3 separate regions of the Homo sapiens genome follow, and regions 1 and 2 are each linked to region 3. The links are contacts of gene promoters, found by promoter capture Hi-C in human tissues and cell types (Jung and others, 2019). All regions are on one chromosome and are shown on one strand. The core of a region is centred on a gene start or on the middle of the fragment in contact, and the rest is flanking DNA. Distances in the headings are between cores, read along the strand shown. Region 1 has its middle 25 kb from the start of CPXM1. Region 2 holds the start of CPXM1 (carboxypeptidase X, M14 family member 1). Region 3 holds the start of EBF4 (EBF family member 4).

Region 1 (4,187 bases), core at 1,228-3,727, 82 kb before region 3:
TTACCTTTCCATACACAGTTTAGATTTACCTTGTCTATCTCCAAAGAATTTTGCTAGGATTTTGATTGGAATTGCATTAAATCTGTGGGTCAATCTGGGGACAATTGGCATCTTAACTATAATGTAAGGCTGGGTGTGGTGGCTCACGCCTGTAATCCAGGACTTTGGGAGGCTGAGGCGGGCAGATCACGAGGTCAGGAGTTCGAGACCAGCCTGGCCAACACAGTGAAGCCCCGTCTCTACTAAAAATACAAAAATTAGCTAGGCATGGTGGCAAGCACCTGTAGTCCCAGCTACTTGGGAAGCTGAGGCAGGAGAATCGCTTGAGCCTGGGAGGCAGGATTGTGGTGAGCCAAGATCGCGCCACTGTACTCTAACCTGGGCCACAGAGCAAGACTCTGTCTCAAAAAAAACAAAAACAACAACAACAACAACAAAACAAAACTATACTGTACTTCCCAATCCTTGAACACTGTGTGTTTATTCGCTTATTAGGTCTTCTTCTAGCTCTTTCATTGGCGTTTTGTAGTTTCCAGCATACAGATCCTGCACATCTTATGTTAGATTTATATTGAAGTATTTCATTTTTCGAGCTCTTATCAATGGTATTTTTATGGGCTGAATTATTTCACCCCAATTCATATACTGAAGTCCTAACCCCCAAGACTTCAGATTGTGACTGTATTTGGAGACAGAACCTTAAAGAAGTAATTAAGTTCACATGGGTGGGCCCTAATCCAGTATGACTAGTGTCCCTTTAAGAAGAGAGAGAGGCTGGCGTGGTGGCTTACACCTGTAATCCCAGCACTTTGGGAGGCCAAGGTGGGCGGAGCTGTTGAGGTCAGGAGTTTGAGACCAGCCTGGCTAACATGGCGAAACCCCATCTTTACTAAAAATACAAAAATTAGCCAGGGGTGGTGGCACGAGTCTGTAATTCCAGCTACTCAGGAGGCTGAGGCAGGCGAATCGCTTGAACGAGGGAGGTGGAGGTTTCAGTGAGCCGAGATTGCACCACTGCATTCCAGCCTGGGCAACTGAGTGAGACTGTCTCAAAAAAAAAAAAAAAAAAAGAGAGGAGAGAGACACAAGAGTTTTCTCTGTCCACCATGTGAAGACATAGGGAGAAGGTAGGCACCTGTAGGGCCAGGAGAGAGGCTTTAAGAGAAACCAAATCAGCTGATACTTCGATCTTTGACTTCCACCCTCTAGAACTGTGAGAAAATAAATCTCTGTCGTTTTAGCCACTTGGTCTGTGGTACTTTTTAATGTCAGTCCTAGCAAACAAATGCAGGTGTTATTTTTTAAATTTGATTTTTAATTGTTCCTTGCTAATATATTGAAATGTAGTTGATTTTTGTATATTGATCTCAAATCTTGTGATCTTGATAAACTTGAATATTAGTTAGAAGCTTTATTTTTTTTTTTTTTGACAGCTGTCTCACTCTATTGCCCAGGCTGTGTGCTGCAGTGGTGCGATCCAGCTTACTGCAGCTTCAGACTCCTGGGCTCAAGTGATCCTCCTGCCTCAGCTTCCCAAGTAGCTGGGACCACAGGCACACACCACTATGTCTGGCCATTTTAAACATTTTTTGTAGAGATGGAGTCTCCCTGTGTTGCTCAGGCTGGTCTCGAACTTCTGGCCTCAGGCAGTTCTCCTGTCTTGGCCTCCCAAAGTGCTGGGATTACACGTGTGAGGCACCATGCTTGGCCGTGGAGCTGTTTTTTTCCAAATATATACATATATATATTCCTTAGGATTTTATGCACAGATGATTATATCATTTGTGAGTGGGAATAATTTTATTTTTTCCTTTCAATATTAAGACTTTTGTTTATTTTTCTTGCCTTATCACACTTGCTAGGGCTTCTAGTACTATATTAAATGAAAGTTAAGAAACAATGGCTGAAAACTGCTCAAATTTTGTGAAAGCCATATATTTTCAGATCAAAGAAGCACAAACAAAAGTGGTAAGACTGGGCATCCTTGCCTACTTCCTGATTTTAGGGCAAAAACATTCAGTTTAGGGTTAGCTGTTAGGTTTTCATAGATACCCTTTATCATGTTGTAGAGGTTTTCTTCTCATCCTAGCTGGCTGAGAATTTTTATAGCAGATGTTAGGTTTGTCAAATGCTTTTTCTGCATCTTTTGAGGTGACCGTATATTTTCTCTCTTTCAGTTTGTTACGGTGGTGGATTTTATATTAGAGTTCCATCCCAATTAGAAAAGAAGATCAGAAACAGTCCTCATTCACATAAATATTTACTCAGTGTTTTGCCCTAGGGCTATGTTAATTTTCCTGGTCTGTATCATAATATAGTTTGAAGGTCTCTGTACTATCCATATGTCATGCAGACACTGCAGTGATCCTTTATGTTACTGACGTCATGCAGGCGGGCAGGATGAGCACAACATGGCTAGCACACTGGAGGCCTTGGTGAGACACATGCAATCCAGATGGTAGGAGATAAACTCTGGGAGGGTTCAGGGACCTGCCATTTTGGTCAAGTTTTACGGGGTCTGTTGGCCAAGGGCATGCCAGGATAGCTCCTCCAAAGTTAGAGACTAATTGCTGTATTTTGTATCCCCTGCCACAAAGAAGGAAGCACAGCACTTGGTGGCCTCTGGATTCTGGAAACAACACATTTCTCACCCAGGAATACTGCTTCAGCTAATACATCAGGTGACACGAAGGCTGTCGGCTTTGGGGGAGGGGCAAGTGCTCCTGTATGTTTATCTTAATTATTGTCGTTAAGGAATAAATATTAACATAACACTTTTTTTGGGGGGGGGGCTTGAGGAAGAGACACCTTTTTCTAATTTGTACAGACATCATATGTACTATGCTTGACATGAAACCTATTTAATTTCCATGGAGAGGAAGACAAAGGTGGTTTCAGCCTCTGCGAGAAAGTTCCAAGCTCAATGCCCCCATGTTTGTGAAGCAGTATGGAGGCAACAAAGAGCACAGGCTTGGCAGGATGCAGTGGCTCACGCCTCTACTCTCAGCACTTTGGGAGGCCAAGGTGGGTGGATCACCTGAGGTTAGGAGTTTGAAACCAGCCTGGCCAAGATAGTAAAACCCCGTCTCTACTAAAAATACAAAAATTAGTCGGGCATGGTGGCACATGTCTATAATCGCTTGAACCTGGGAGGCAGAGGTTGCAGTGAGCCGAGATCGCGCCACTGCACTCCAGCTTGGAAGACAGAGTGAGACCCTGTATCAGAAAAAAACAAAACAAAACAAAACAAAGCAAAGCACAGGTTCAAAATTTAATTTAAAACTATCACTTACTAAAATCTGCATGTGAGGAGAAGAATTGGGGGAGTACACTCAATATAGTGACCCAACCCCTGAGACAACTTAGAACTTTAAGTTACAAATGTTCTTTTAATTACAGCTTTATTAGAAACACAGCTATATGAAATATAGATACCTCTGATGGCTTAGGTTACTTATTAGGTTACTAATACGAGCTTCAAAAAGTGTTTCAGGGCTGGGCGCAGTGGCTCATGTCTGTAATCCCAAACTTTGGGAGGTCAAGGAAGGAGGATTGCTTGAGGCCAGGAATTCAAGATCAGCTTGGGCAGCATAGCGAGACTGCATCTCTACAAAAAATTAAAAAATTAGCTGGGCGTGATGGCACGTGCCTGTGGTCCCAGCTACTCAGGAGGCTGAGCAGGAGGGTTGTTTGAGCCCAAGGGTTCAAGGTTATAGTAAGTTATTGTCGTGCCACTACACTCCGGCCTGGGAGACAGAGTGAGAATGTGTCTTAAAAAAAAAAAAAAAAAAACAGAGGCCAGGCAGGGTGGCTCAGGCCTGTAATCCCAGCACTTTGGGAGGCCGAGGTGAGCAGATCATGAGGTCAAAGCTCGAGACCATCCTGGCCAACACGGTGAAACCCCGTCTCTACTAAAAATACAAAAATTAGCTGGGCGTGGTGGCACGTGCCTATAGTCCCAGCTACTCGGGAGGCTGAGCAGGAGAATTGCTTGAACCTGGGAGGCAGAGGTTGTGGTGAGCTGAGATCGCACCACTGCACTCCAGCCTGGTGATAGAGCGAGACTCTGTCTCAAAACAAAAACAAAAAAACAAAACAGAACAAACCCCCCCCCAAAAAAAATGAAAACAGTGTTTCAGTGGCTGAAGGCCCTTATGACATGAGTGATAAGTGGCAAATTTTCAGCC
Region 2 (4,098 bases), core at 297-2,796, 110 kb before region 3:
GGGATTATATGTGCCCGCCACATATAATTAGCCCCCTGGCTGATTTTTTTTTTTTTTTTGTATTTTTAGTAGAGACAGGGTTTCGCCATGTTGGCCAGGCTGATCTCGAACTCCTGACCTCAGGTGATCCACTCGCCTCGGCCTCCCAAAGTGCTAGGATTACAGGTGTGAGTCACTGTGCCCGGCCAAGTTTTGCATTTTTAGTAGACTCCCGGTCTTTAACTCCGGACCTCAGGTGATCTGCCTGCCTTGGCCTCCCAAAGTGCTGGGGTTACAGGCATAAGCCATTGTGCTCAGCCTTATATGCTTATTTTTAAGAGTTTGTGGGTCAAAATGAGACCAATGGGACCATTTTTAAGGAGGCAATCCAAGGGCGAGTTGGATGGAACTGAATTAATTGAACCGAAGTTGGGTTTAGACAAGGAACTACAAGATCCCTGAGGCATCCCTGTGTAGAATTGAGATCCACCGCTTCCAGGACAAGGCTTATGGAGTGTTAAAATGAAAGTGCCCTGCCACTCTGACAGGCAATAGCTCTTTTGTCTTGGCCTTGGGGTAATACCGGGGGATGGCGCTTGGCCAGAAACTGTCAGTTGCCAACGAGAACTCAAGCTGGTTCACTGGCAGTCCGAAAACAGAAAAGAGCCCTGGCCAGTCCCTCACCCCTAAGGGCAAGGACAGCCAGGTATCCCTTCTCTAGGGCTTCAGGATCCCACAGAAGAGCTGCCTCCACCGGGACCGGCAGTTCCCCAAAGAGTAAAGAACCAGACCGTGGAAGGAAGCAGAGAGAAAAAGGAAGAGGGAAATCCCAGTGAAGTCCCCGTATGGGCCACCAAGATGCCAGGCGAGGTGTCAGAGCTCCGGAACCGGGAAGTGGTTGGCTCCCGGGTGGTAAAAGAACTTATCAACAACCGTGTAGGTCTGAAAAGGAAAGTTTTATTAGACGGAAAGGACGAGGCAGCAGAGCGCAGTAGGCGCTTCAGCAAGAGAGGACTGAGCTCCCTGCGGGGAACTGCAGGGTAATTTGGACCACATTAGTCACTTAGGTCATGGTAAATGGTTACATTTGTCGATATTTTGGTGCCTTGATGTCAGCAAAGTTTGCACAATGGGTCTTAACGTGCACTCATTCCGGAAACGTACAGAAATTCTAGTTACTTATAAATTCTTGGGACGGAAGCTTGGTACCAGATGTGGCTTTAGACAATAGGGAAGTGTCATTCTGAATTGCTCAGATAAGGGGCTTTGCCTCCTGTTGGTCGACTTGATGGCCACCAGGTGATCTCTGGTCTCTTCAGTGTGGCTTTGCAGACTATAAAGGCGCAGCGCGCCAACGAGGCGGGTTGGCCCCAGACGGCGGAGAGGAAGGGCAGAGTCGGCGGTCCTGAGACTTGGGGCGGCCCCTTGGAGGTCAGCCCCGCTCGCTCCTCCCGGCCCTCTCCTCCTCTCCGAGGTCCGAGGCGGGCAGCGGGCTGTGGGCGGGCAGGAGGCTGCGGAGGGGCGGGGGGCAGGAAGGGGCGGGGGGCTCGGCGCACTCGGCAGGAAGAGACCGACCCGCCACCCGCCGTAGCCCGCGCGCCCCTGGCACTCAATCCCCGCCATGTGGGGGCTCCTGCTCGCCCTGGCCGCCTTCGCGCCGGCCGTCGGCCCGGCTCTGGGGGCGCCCAGGAACTCGGTGCTGGGCCTCGCGCAGCCCGGGACCACCAAGGTCCCAGGCTCGACCCCGGCCCTGCATAGCAGCCCGGCACAGCCGCCGGCGGAGACAGCTAACGGTGAGTTCCCCGACCGACGGTCCGCTCCCCCGCAAGCCGACTGCCCGGCTCTCCTGCCCCGTGGGGCGATCCCTCCCTAACACGCGGGCACACGCACACCCACGCACACTCACAGTCATGCACACTCACCCCGCACGCACACTCGCACTCACGCGCACACACGCGCGCGCACTCACACACATTCACACACGCGCACACTTGCACTCACACGCGCGCGCATTCACACGCATGCACACACACGCACACTCACACGCGCGTGCGCGCACACACAGTGCACGCGCGCGCACACTCACACTCACAGTGCACACACACATATACACACTCACACTCCCTCAACTCCCTGCTGGGAGCAATGGCTGCTGACTCGGCAGCCCCAGTTCCCTGCCAGACCTAGTCAGCAGTCCCAGGACAGGCGCCAGTGGGATGCTGCCTCTTCCAAGCCCCAAACCTTCCCTTTTCACCAAAGACAAAACAGGCCAGAACTGGCAGGAGGGGAGACAGAGGGGCAGAAGCTCTCAAGGTGCAGAGCAAGACTGCGTAGGAGAGAGTTTGAAGGCGAGGGCTGGAGAGAAAGAACAAAAGGAAAGAAGGGAGAGCCCCTCGCTGAGGCTGCCGGGAGGATGGGGCAGAGCGGGAGAGGAAGGCAGCCCGACCTCCCAGCTTTCCAGATGTGGAATAGGAGAGGAGGAGCGCAAGCGGAGGGCACTCAGGGGCTTCTAGAGGAGGCAAGTGGAGGAGGGTCTTGAAGGGTGATGTCCCCGAGTCAGGGGAGTCTGGAGAGAGAGAGAGAGAGAGGGCTGCCAAGAAGGAAGCGGCGGGCAAAGGCACAGGGGCACCAGATGCGGAAATGGGCAGCCTGTTCTGGAGGCAGCTGTGGAGCTTCGATGGGTACCCCCAGCACCTGCCTGGGCAGAGCCTTGTGCTGAAGGGCCGGCGGGCAGGCCCAGCCCTGAAAGCCTCGACACCCAGGCAGACATGGATTCCAGGACAGGCCATCTGAGCCCAGAGAGCAGACACAACAATGGAAGCGGCACAGGGGTTTTGGGGCATGATGCTGAGTCTGGAGCTAAGAAAGCCTCCTTGGAAAGGCATCTGGGCTGAGATGCAAAGGAAGAATGGGAATTAGGTGAAAAAATCAGAGGCGAGGGGTAGCATTACAGGGGAGGGGATAGCTAGTGCAGAGGCCCGGAGGTAAAGTGCCAGACTCAGCTCTTTGGAGCAACCGAACAGTTTCTAGAGGCTGGGTGCAGCTCTCCATTGGATTAGAGGTTCACAGGGGAGGCTGGCCAAGCATGTAGTTACATCAGGGAGGAGAAGGAGGAGCCAAGGAAGTGACTGGAGAGGCAGGTTGGGGTCAGATTGCAGGCCTTTGATGTCCTGTGAAGGCTGTTAGATCCTGGTGGTGTGGCCTGCTGTGGGCTCACATGTCTTCTTGGGCTGGCAGACCTTTCCATCCGGGGTTTCACCATTCTTCCTTTCCCCCATGCTGTGCCTCTCGGACCCCAAGGGACCTCAGAACAGCATGTCCGGATTCGAGTCATCAAGAAGAAAAAGGTCATTATGAAGAAGCGGAAGAAGCTAACTCTAACTCGCCCCACCCCACTGGTGACTGCCGGGCCCCTTGTGACCCCCACTCCAGCAGGGACCCTCGACCCCGCTGAGAAACAAGAAACAGGTACTTCCTCTCCAGGGGCCCAGCCCAGACTTGCAGCCCCTGGGGCACTTTACCAGCACAGCTCTTGGCCTCATGGGCACCGGCACGCCCCTTGCTTGCCTAGCGCAGGAGCAACCTTAGGCTCAGCTTCCCACCTGCCCTGGCTACCCTCCCTCTGGTCCTGTCTCACTGTTCTATCCCCGCCCCAGGCTGTCCTCCTTTGGGTCTGGAGTCCCTGCGAGTTTCAGATAGCCGGCTTGAGGCATCCAGCAGCCAGTCCTTTGGTCTTGGACCACACCGAGGACGGCTCAACATTCAGGTCAGTAATCCTGGCTCGGAGCCATGGTCTCAGGGTAGGGAAGGCAGCCCCTGGGAGCTTCTCTCCTGCCTCCTCTCTGTCCTGGCCTGCCCCACTCTGTCCAACTGGGCCTGACCACCATGTCCTGTGTCTGCAGTCAGGCCTGGAGGACGGCGATCTATATGATGGAGCCTGGTGTGCTGAGGAGCAGGACGCCGATCCATGGTTTCAGGTGGACGCTGGGCACCCCACCCGCTTCTCGGGTGTTATCACACAGGGCAGGAACTCTGTCTGGAGGTGAGGCAGACTAACCCTAGGTCAGGAGGTCACAGAAGGACTGGGGTGGGAGTCCTGGGGGCACCGATGATCTCTCT
Region 3 (3,856 bases), core at 586-3,085:
AACCACTGTGACTCCCCATAGGATACCTAAATGCCTCCCTCCATGGTCACAGCTGAAGGTGCAAAAAGCCAGGGGGTGCAGGGGCTTTGGGGGCAGGTCAATAAACTTTTAAAGTTCGCTTTCAAATCCTGGAGTCAACCCCCTACTGAGACTCCCAGACCCCTGCAAAGGAGTCAGAGGAGACCGGCGCGGGTGCTGGGTTCCCAGGGACTCTCTGCCTTCCAAAGGACCTACCAGAAAAACACCCGAGGGAAAGGCAGGGGCCCTGCCCAGTTCCCAGGCCAATCAGTCCAGCCAGGCCGACTGCCCACCTCATCTCTTCGCCACCGTCCAGCCCCCAGCCGCTTCTCTGGCTCTGCACACCCCCATCCGCCAACTCTGAGGGGCGTGGGAAAGGAAAAAGGGGGCTGGGTTTCGTGCCTTTCCTGACAGAGAGCTGCGGAATTGGACAAGGAGAGTCACTGGGACTGCCCAGGAAGGAGGGGCTGGACGTTCCTAGACGGCCGGTGGCTGTGGGTCATGGCTGGGAGCTCTGCCTCTTCTCTCAGAGCCATAGACAGCCCGGCTGGGGTGGCGTTCACCGCCGCACCCGCGAGCGGCCGTCAGAAATCTACCGGGGCAGCCCGGAGTGGAGGCAGAAGCCCCGCCCCAGCCCGCCCCACAGCCTCAGGAGGCAGCACAGGCACTCCGGACGGGGTGGGCCGGGGAGCTCGCCGGGACCGTCCAGAGTTAGGGCTCCTTCCGCCCCTGGCTCCAGCAGCTCCAGCAAGCTGAGCTGAGGCGGCGCGCAGCCGTCCAACCCGAGCGCACCGGGTCCGGTCCGAGCGCTTACCTCTGCGCCGCGGTGCTGGCGTCCAGGATGCCCGCGCCCTGCATCCAGGAGCGCACTGAGCCCAGGCCGGCGGGCAGCAGCGGCTCCTCCTTCAGGTTCAGCCCGCTGCGGGGCAGAGCGTCCTGCGCAGGGAACATGAGGGCGCGCGGTGAGTGAGCGCCCCCGCCGCCCCGGATCCGGTCCCGCTGAGGCTGCGGGCGTCTAGCTCAGCCCGACCCGACGGCACCAGGCGCCTCCAGCAGCGCAGCGCCGAGTCCGGGTGGCTCAGTGCGCGCTCGCCTCTTGGGCGCTCCCTCGGAGAAAGCGGGTCCGCGGGCGCCGGCGCTGTCCCCTCCCCTCCTGGGGCGCTGGGCGGGGAGATGGAGGGATTCCCCCGCGGCCTGAGCGCTGGCGGGCGGACTGCGAGCGGGGCGGGGAGGGCGGGGAGCGGAGCCCGCACCCGGTCCGCGCGGAGGCGCCCCAGAGGCGCGCTCTGGCGGCTGCCCGGGGCCGCGGTCGTCGGAGGGGGGGCCCGAGCGCCCCGGGAGCTGCCTCGGGCAAGGCGGGGGCGCGGGGCCGCCCGCCCTTTCCCCCTCGCCGCCCCCACCTCCCGCCCGCCCGCCCGCCCGCGGCGCCAGCGCGGGGCGCTGATTACCATCCGGGAGGCGGAGGCTGCGGGCGCGGAGCTCGGCGGCGGCGGCGACAGTGGCGGCAGCGGCGGCAGGAGCAGCAGCAGCCGCGCGTCCCGGGGAAAGGCTGGGGCCGCGCCGGGCCAGCAGACGCCGCCGCCGCCAGCGCCAGCGCCCCGCGTGCCCCGGCGTCCCGGCCCTGCCGTAGCCCCGGGCGGCAGCACCTGGAGCAGCAGCAGCAGCAGCCCGGCCGACTCCCCCCGGGGCCCGGTTCCCGCGCCGCCCCGCCGCGGCCGCCGCCGCCCGCCGCTCCCCGGGGCCTGGCCTCGGGCCCGGGCCATCCCGCCGCCGCCGCCGCCGCCGCCGCCGCTCCCGGGGGAGCGGTAGCCGAAGGGAGGGAGCGCAGGCGGGAGGAGGGATGTCGGGAGCGGGCGGGCCCAGGGGACGGGGGCCCGGGGGAGGCGGGGGCGGGGCGGCGCGGCCGGCCGAGGGGCGGCCGGGGACGTGACATCATCGGGGGAGGAGCGGCCGGGCCCGGGCCGCGGCGGCGGGGCGGACCCTGGCGAGTCGGTCGCCTGGGCTGGGGGCTGCGGCCTGGTCGAGGCCGCGGGAGGGAACGGAAGAGCCCGGCGGGGGCCACGGAAACCCGCGCAGGGAGGATCCGGGGCCGCGCGGCGAGGGAGCCCGGCCCGAGCGGGAGGTGCGCGCCCCGCTGCGCTCGGGAACCTCCGCGGCCTCCCCGTCGCCGCCGGACGAAGCCCCGGCGTCTTCGCGGCCTCATCTCCCTCCCCCGGCACCCGCCGTACTCTCCGCGCCCGACGCCTTGTGCCTGGACTTGCTGCTCATTTTGACGCCTCCGAGCTTTCGCTCTTGACGTCTTTCTCCCGCGTGACTGTACTCCCGCATTTCCCCGGCGACCCTGACCTCACTTTCACCCCAGCTAAGGACTGAAACGTCCCTGCCGTAGGCTGCGGCCCCAGACAAGCTGGGCGAGGTCCCTGCATCCAACCATCCCGATTCCTGATGCTGGGTTACCTAAGCCTAAAGCATTTTCAGTTTCCATCTGTGCCTTTCAGGAACCTCCTGATTTCTGATTGCGAGTTGGACAGGTAGGCTCAGAGCCCAGCTCACCTCCTGTTTCTCCCCAGCCGCGTCCCGTCTCAGATCCCATTCCTTTTTTTTTATTAGTTCCTGGCACAGAAGTCGTCTGGCCCTTGACCGTGGGGCAGAGACATTTCTGCCCCTCTCCCCACGTTGTCCTGGCCAGGCTTCGAGCAAGCCCAGACTGAGTCCAGCACTTTCCTGCAGAACAGCATGGGGGCCACCTGCCCTGCCTGCCATGTTCACGCTCAGACACCCCTGCAATAACACCTTCCTGCTCCAACTCACTCCCATCCTCTTCTGGGGGGCCTCCAAGTGTGAGTTAGCGTTCTGTCACACATTGGCCCAGATGAGGCGTCCTGGGGGCACTGCTGGTTCTCCTGCCATCACAGAGGCCCTCTCACCTCCTTTCCTGGTCTCTTTACCACCCCTTCTCTCTATGCCTCTCCCCATCACCCACAGGGGGCTGCCATTCCCACCAGGACTCCTTCAGGTCTCAGCTTTTACCCTAGGTGGGATTATCAAACATGGGTTTCTCCTTAAGACAATTCTTAAGCCAGTCTCTTTCTCCATCTCCTGATCTGCCTCTCTAAATCTTGCTTCTCACAGTGTGGTCCCCGGACCAGCAGCATTGACATCACCTGGGAGCTGGTGAGGAATCCAGACTCTTAGGCCCTGCCGGGACCTGCTGAATCGGAACCTGCAATTTACCAAGACCTGTACACACATTACATGTGAGAAGCCCCCCCAGAGCTGTTCCACACTTGCTCCACTCCTCTCCCCAACATTCAGACCCACCTCTGGCTCTCTCATTTCCAGCAGACACCCTTCCTCTTACCCAGTGGAGAGGACTCAGGGAATCTTGGCAGAACCCTGCTGGCACCATCAGCGGCGTATGCTCCTCCTCGTTTCTGTCTTTTCACCCGTTCTCTTCTCTCGGTCTTCCACTGTGGAGATGGATGTGGAACCTTTTTGCTTAGTCCTGTCTTCTGCCTTTCCTGAGATTACCCCACCGATCTCCTGTTTGTGTCTCAATATGTTCTTTTCTCTGCTCAGATCTCCCCATTCTTAAAAGAACTGTCCCCTCCTCCTCGCCTCCTTCTTCAATTTCTGCCCCTCCTGTGTCTGAGACCGTTCACAGGAACGCTCTGCCAAGGATGCCTGACTGGCCCCCAGCAAGCCACTCCTGGGGCCCTTGTGTGCTGGCTCCCTTCCAGCCCTGCCTTCCTGCTTCTGCTCTCAGACTCCGTGGTCTCTCTTGGGCTTCAGGGCCTGGGACCTCCTGGCAGCAGTGGGCTACCCCACCCCCCAACCC

What was found. Contacts are between HindIII fragments. The study calls those that stand out against the background at their distance.
Region 1: a contact is called between a fragment that was not itself captured here and the fragment with the promoter of EBF4 in region 3, in 2 of the 25 tissues and cell types used here (liver and lymphoblastoid cells).
Region 2: a contact is called between the fragment with the promoter of CPXM1 here and the fragment with the promoter of EBF4 in region 3, in 1 of the 25 tissues and cell types used here (H1 embryonic stem cells).

The regions. Positions count from the first base shown.
Region 1 is chr20:2,773,538-2,777,724 of GRCh38, reverse strand. No RefSeq gene overlaps it. Among named protein-coding and RNA genes, the nearest start is that of CPXM1, 25 kb to the left of the region's middle. RefSeq lists an enhancer at 4,060-4,187. The HindIII fragment of the contact is 6,441 bases long and covers 1-4,187 here.
Region 2 is chr20:2,798,075-2,802,172 of GRCh38, reverse strand. It overlaps CPXM1 (carboxypeptidase X, M14 family member 1), which reads left to right and starts at 1,546. Exons shown (of 14, transcript NM_019609.5): 1 at 1,546-1,772; 2 at 3,280-3,447; 3 at 3,636-3,745; 4 at 3,882-4,021. The coding sequence starts at 1,601. RefSeq lists enhancers at 1,003-1,988, 1,989-2,976, 2,977-3,964. The HindIII fragment of the contact is 10,377 bases long and covers 1-4,098 here.
Region 3 is chr20:2,690,759-2,694,614 of GRCh38, reverse strand. EBF4 (EBF family member 4) reads right to left here and starts at 1,835. Exons shown (of 17, transcript NM_001395167.1): 1 at 833-1,835. The coding sequence starts at 969. It overlaps LOC105372507 (a long non-coding RNA gene), which reads left to right and starts at 1,995. Exons shown (of 3, transcript XR_937210.3): 1 at 1,995-2,549; 2 at 3,151-3,275. RefSeq lists an enhancer at 1-664. The HindIII fragment of the contact is 20,356 bases long and covers 1-3,856 here.